Regions from separate parts of the Homo sapiens genome. Here region 2 is linked to region 1. Evidence: promoter capture Hi-C in 16 types of primary human blood cells and fetal thymus (Javierre and others, 2016). All regions are on one chromosome and are shown on one strand. Each heading gives the region's core, a stretch centred on a gene start or on the middle of the fragment in contact. The rest is flanking DNA. Distances are from core to core; before and after follow the strand shown. Region 1 holds the start of CCR9 (C-C motif chemokine receptor 9). Region 2 has its middle 9.9 kb from the start of RTP3.

What was found. Contacts are between HindIII fragments. The CHiCAGO score rates a contact against its expected background, and 5 or more counts as called.
Region 2: a contact is called between a fragment that was not itself captured here and the fragment with the promoter of CCR9 in region 1, in 1 of 17 cell types (neutrophils). The highest score is 5.7, in neutrophils.

What each region holds. Positions count from the first base shown.
Region 1 is chr3:45,885,100-45,888,120 of GRCh38, forward strand. CCR9 (C-C motif chemokine receptor 9) reads left to right here and starts at 1,444. Exons shown (of 3, transcript NM_031200.3): 1 at 1,444-1,556. It also overlaps a transcript of LZTFL1 not described here. RefSeq lists a promoter at 460-1,459. The HindIII fragment of the contact is 2,128 bases long and covers 1-1,785 here.
Region 2 is chr3:46,506,345-46,509,431 of GRCh38, forward strand. No RefSeq gene overlaps it. Among named protein-coding and RNA genes, the nearest start is that of RTP3, 9.9 kb to the left of the region's middle. The HindIII fragment of the contact is 7,986 bases long and covers 1-3,087 here.

The sequences.
Region 1 (3,021 bases), core at 194-2,693:
ACCCAAGTGCACCTTCTGCATCCCTTTGCTCTACGGGAACTGAGGGTGATGAAGGGGACATGCGCCTGGGAGTACCACGCCATGACAGAGCGGCATTGAGTCCTCGGGACAATCAATACACCAAGAGGTGGAAATTAACATCCACAAGAGTGTAGTCATGATTTTCCCCCAGAACAAATATATAAAAGGGATCTTTGTCATAACAATGACAGGAAATCATTAATCACATCAGGATTGAAGTCCCCACTGTAGCAGTGGATGGGAAGACTTCGTCTGTGATCTTCATTAAAAATGCAATATTTTGTATATTTAGCTTTTTTCAAAGTTTTACCAAAACACCTGTAATTAATACAATTTATTGTATTATCTTTGTTAATGTATCTGATGTGCAAAACCTTACTAGATTTGCCCCAATTTGAAGGTGTCTGTGGCTTTCCAGCACTCCATGTGTTCCTAGCTACATCTCACAGGCAGACTTTCTAAAGCAGTGCCTTTCAATAGCACTGTTGGCGACGATGGACAGGTTCTGTATCTGCATTGTCCATTGGGATAGCCACTAGCTGCATGTGGCTATTGAGCACTTGAAATGTACCTGGCATGACTGAGAAACTAGTTAACACTTAAAACATTTTTCTTTTTTGATACAGGGTCTCAGTCTGTTGCCCAGGGTGGAGTGCAGTGGTGCAATCTTGGCTCACTACAACCTCTGCCTCCTGATCCTTCCACCTCAGCTTCCCTGAGTATCTGGGACTACAGGCATGGGCCACCATGCCTGCCTAATTGTTTTTGTGTGTTTTGTAGAGATGAGGTTTCACCATGTTGTCCAGGCTGTTCTTGAACTCCTAGGCTCTGCCTAGTGATCTGCCCGCCTCAGTCTCTCAGAGTGCTGGGACTACAGAGGTGAGCCACTGCACTGGCCCTAGTTAGCATTTTAATTAATTTGAATTTAAATAGGCACATCTGCCTAGTAGCTACTGTGTTGGATAGCACAGCCCTCCGGGTTCTGGTACGTCTGTCAAGGCCAGAAAAGGTATGTTGCGATGGATAGTGCTACATCTGCCACTGGGTGGTAATCTGATACAGGCCTGCTCAGGTGACACCACCTAAAGAAATCTCATCAGTGTGCACCTCTGGCAAGCCTGACAAGGCTGACTTCTCTCGATGGGATCCTCCAATTTCCCCATTCCCTGTAAGCAGCTGTGCTGTCTAGGAAGAGAATTTGCTCTTAGATCATCAGTCTGTATGTGCGTCTTCAGATGAGACAGTTTCCCCTTATCCCAGCAGTTTTCAGCTTTTTGTTTCTGGTTGCAAATGATTGACTCCGCTGATTGCTGGAAGCTACACAGGTGACTCCCCACCCTCTTGGGCTACCCCACCAGTGACAACACAGGCAGGGGTGGCCTGGCTTCCTTTCTCGTGTTGTTATCGGGTAGCTGCCTGCTCAGAACCCACAAAGCCTGCCCCTCATCCCAGGCAGAGAGCAACCCAGCTCTTTCCCCAGACACTGAGAGCTGGTGGTGCCTGCTGTCCCAGGGAGAGTTGCATCGCCCTCCACAGTGAGTATTGCTCTTCTTCTTGTTGCCCCCAACCCAGTGTCATCTTGGCCCTCAGTTGTGTGCTGCTATGATGGCTTCTAAAACCTGGGCTTGCACTCATTTGTTCAGAGGTCATGGGCACCAGGCACTTTTCTAGAAACTTCCAGGAAGGTAAATGGGAATTGGTGATGCCCAACCCAGGTTTCTTGTAGGGCGAGTAATAAAACTCCCTCCCCCTTCACATACATGAAGCTTAGGCTTAAGGCAGTCTGTGATTTATACCTTAAAGGAAGGAGAAGCAGGTGCTGGGGGACAAGATGGTGGCCAGGGGTAAAGGACACACCCATGAGGTCCTTGAGTCTGAGACACTGCCCCATGGAAAGGATTCTTTGTAGCAGTGAAAAACTGGAAACAAGGAAACTATGCATCAGGAGGCGAATGGTTAAATGAATTGTGATGTATCTAGACAATGGAATACACAGCAGCCATCCAATTCTATGATACGGTTCTATGTTGAATTGGCATGGAAGGTGATCCATGAAAGATGGGCAATTAGAAAGCAAGATAGAAGATTATATGTGTAGTCTGATTTCCTTTCTATTAAGTGCGTGTGTGTCTGTGTGTGTGTGTGTGTGTGTGTGAGGTTGTGTTACAGAGAAAAAGTCAGAAAGGAAGTATCTCAGAAACTTAACAATGGCTAAACTAGGAAAGGGTGCTTCAGGAGTTTTTATTTTCTATATTATGTATGTTGGCATTTTGGGGATTTTTTGTGCATTGTAAAAATACTCCTTTATGATCAGAGTAAAGCAAAAAGTTATTTTAAATGACTCATCAGTGGATGCTGGTTTGCCTTTTCAAACACACCTACCCTCTTTAGTTCTGAATTAGCTGTTACTCCATAGACGGCTGGCAAGTCCATCCAGAGAGTGGTCACTGTGTGCTGAACCGGAAGGGCTGTGCAGCAGCCAGTCTGTGGGATCCCATCTCCTTACTCCCTTTCCTGAACGAGCAAAAGCTAATTTACTATTTCAGCATCTGGAATTTCGGAGTCCTTTTCTTCCAATATCTGCTTATCTGTTCTGAAGCCTCTTTGTGTAGGCCTCACTCACAGGCTTGTGTTGGGAGCCCCTGGGCCCTGTGCAGCCCCTGCTGGGCGGTTGGCAGGCATCTGATCCAGGCATGGTGAGTGGATGGATCTGATAGATGGCTCAGAGACCCTGCCTCGTGTAGGGAACAAAAAGCAGAGCTATGAAAAAATGTAAGAGATGATTCAAGCTCCGTGTAGCAAATTGTACAAAGTTCAAAGTAAGGACCTGCATTCCTGACTCATGTTAGTATCTGATTTGATGTTAGTGCTGTAAGCATCAGAGGCTATAAGTGTGGGGAGATGCTGTGTGCACAATAACCCCATGCTGATTTTCATGTTGGCTACGTAAGAATGTTAGAGAATACAAAAATAGTGATTGGATAATAATAGGTTCCAAGC
Region 2 (3,087 bases), core at 167-2,666, 620 kb after region 1:
TGGTCTCGCCTGGAAGCCACGGGTGTTTACCAACACCACTCCCACCCCCATACACACTCCCTACTAGGCATTCACTGCCATTTCTGACTTCCCAGGGCTGCATGGCTGCCGAAATTCCCATGCAAGCCTTTAGCCTCCCAGAGCCTGGCTTTGTTTTCCCTTAGAACAGCACATCTTGGTAATCAGCCAATGAAAGAAAAATGGAATGCAGCATTTTGAGCCTCTTCTCTTCAATTCCCTTCTTTCTGGGATTTTGCCTTTAAATTTCAGGTGCCTAGGCAGCCTCAAATTCTGACTTCTGTCTCCTCAGTCAACTGAAATAATCACTTTTTGCTTTGCTTTATCTCCTGGGCTGCAATTCAGAAACTGTCTTCGAGTAAACCCGGGGCACATGGGGCTTGCCTTATGTGCGTCCCTCCTCCAGAGGACCAGCTCCTCACAGCCAATCCATGCTTGTTGCTCTCCAGTGCATCTCATCCTTTGTTTTCTTGTTTTTGCCTAGCTTTTATAGCTATTTTTGGTGATAGGAAGGGTCCAAACCTAGCTACTCTGCAGTGGCCAGGATCAGAAAGAATTTTGCAGTTGTTATTCCAAAATCTCAATAGAATTGTCAAATTTCTCACATACAGTCAAGGCTACTGTCTTCTAATATGGAAGTAGAGGTGAACGCAAAGCCAGCCAACTTAGAGAATTTCCTTCCTCTTCTATAAACATCACCTTCATTTTGGCAGTGCTATCTAGTAGAGTTAGAGCATGTCAGCCACATAGGTAACTTAAATGTTTTCAGTAGCCACATTATTATTATTATTATTATTATTATTATTATTATTATTTTGGTAGAGACAAGGTTTCATTCTGTCACCCAGGGTGGTCTTGAACTCCTGGATGTTTATGTAGGAACACATATTCATTTTAAGTTTCCTCCAATCTCAGTTTCCTGAGATGCCTGTAGCATCCTGCACATTCCTTCTACAGCACATGCACCTTTTACCCAAGATATAAGCCCTGGGTCTGGAGGGTCGCAATGCGGAGATCTGCCTGTCTTGCAACCGCAAAAGACCACACTTCTATCTGTAAATTCCCCCTAAAAAATCACCCAATACCGACAAACTGGATTTGTCTGCCTCTTTCTTTGGTTTCTTGGATCCTGTGTCATTTGGGGGTCATTTTCCATGCACAGCCTTTTCACAGAACACCCAATCATTCATTGTGATTTGCTTCTAAACACTTCAGTATAGATACTGGGGTGTGTGTGTGTGTTTCTGTGCCATCTATACCCTGTGGGCTGTTGCCCCCATCCCAGAGGTGGTCAATTAGCATTCATTAGCAACTAATTGGGATCCTCACTCAAGAAAGCTGTGCTAAGTTTCAAATATTTCTGCAAAGGGGTCATTGTTAATTTGCATAAGACATATCAGAAACTACTTGTATTGGTGAAATAAGTGATGTTCACCACATGGGGCTGTGCTGGTATCTTCCCCCTTTCCCATGAATGTGGTAGGAGAATCAGAAGTGCCCAGTGGTCCCATACTTTGAGAACCATGCCCTGGTTTAAAATCCTGGCCCTGTGTTCCCCACTAAACAGAGGACACCATAGTCTGACACAGTGTTCCCGCCATCAGAGCACATTCCTGTCTGCCTGGAAGGGGCATATACAGGAGCATGTCTGGGCCACCTGAAAACCCAAAGGCTCACAGACCAGGTGGCATGATAGGGGACCTGCTTGCCAATGACAGTTTACTCCCCTGCAGAATTCTTGGTAGTGAGGTTCTGAGGAAGGCAACTAATATTTGCTGATAAACACAGAGAGAACATGGTGACTAGGGAAGACCAGACCTGCTTGGGTGACTCCAAACACTGGTTAGTGGGTTGGGTTTTCTTATTTTCTTGAACTCATGGAAGTAACAAAATATGCTAATAGTAACACAGGGCTAGAAACAGTTCAAGTTTAACGTAGGAAATGATCTTTTCTTTTTTTTTTTTTTTTTTTTTTTTTTTTTTTGAGACGGAGTCTCGCTCTGTCGCCCAGGCCGGACTGCGGACTGCAGTGGCGCAATCTCGGCTCACTGCAAGCTCCGCTTCCCGGGTTCACGCCATTCTCCTGCCTCAGCCTCCCGAGTAGCTGGGACTACAAGCGCCCGCCACCGCGCCCGGCTAATTTTTTGTATTTTTAGTAGAGACGGGGTTTCACCTTGTTAGCCAGGATGGTCTCGATCTCCTGACCTCATGATCCACCCGCCTCGGCCTCCCAAAGTGCTGGGATTACAGGCGTGAGCCACCGCGCCCGGCCGGAAATGATCTTTTCTTAAAAATAATTTGGTCACTATTCTTCAAGGAATTCCCCCAAGGAGTTTTCTCCTAAAGATTAGTCTTTTATCCCTAAGTCACTCCTATCTCCTTCAGTTACAAGATTTTCCCCTTCTTACGGGCTGAGACATCACTTCCTAAATTCATGTCATATGTGGTTGAGAGTAGCCTTCTGTGTAATCAGAGTTCTCCGCAGAAACAGAACCACTGGGATATACAGATGCTCCTCAACTTATGATGGGGTTATGTCCTGATAGACCCACCATAAGTAGAAATATCGTAAGTCAAAAATGCATTTAATACACCCTGCCCACCAAATATCGTAGCTTAGCTTAGCCTACCCTGGCCCACTTTAACATGGTCAGAATAGCAATAGGGAAGAGTATCTTACTGCCTGTGGCTAAGCTGGGAAAAGATCAAAATTCCCATTTTAAAGTATGGTTTCAACTAAATATATATCACTTTTGCATCATTGTAAAGTGAAAAATAATCATAAATTGAACCATTCTAAGTCAGGGGCCATCTGTATATAGGTTTATAAGGGGAATGTGAAGTCCTAATTAGGGAAAAGGAGTCAGGCTGGTGGGACCAGGGGAAAACAAAGAGATAAAGCAAATGAGCTATAGGTCTGCCTTTTTTTATGGCCCAGGACATATGGCCATATGTCCTGGGCCATAAAGATAAGTCTTTTATCCCTAAGTCACTCCTATCTCCTTTAGTTACAAGATTTATCTGTGCAGGACATATGGCCATATGTCTTGATGACGTACATAACTCAAA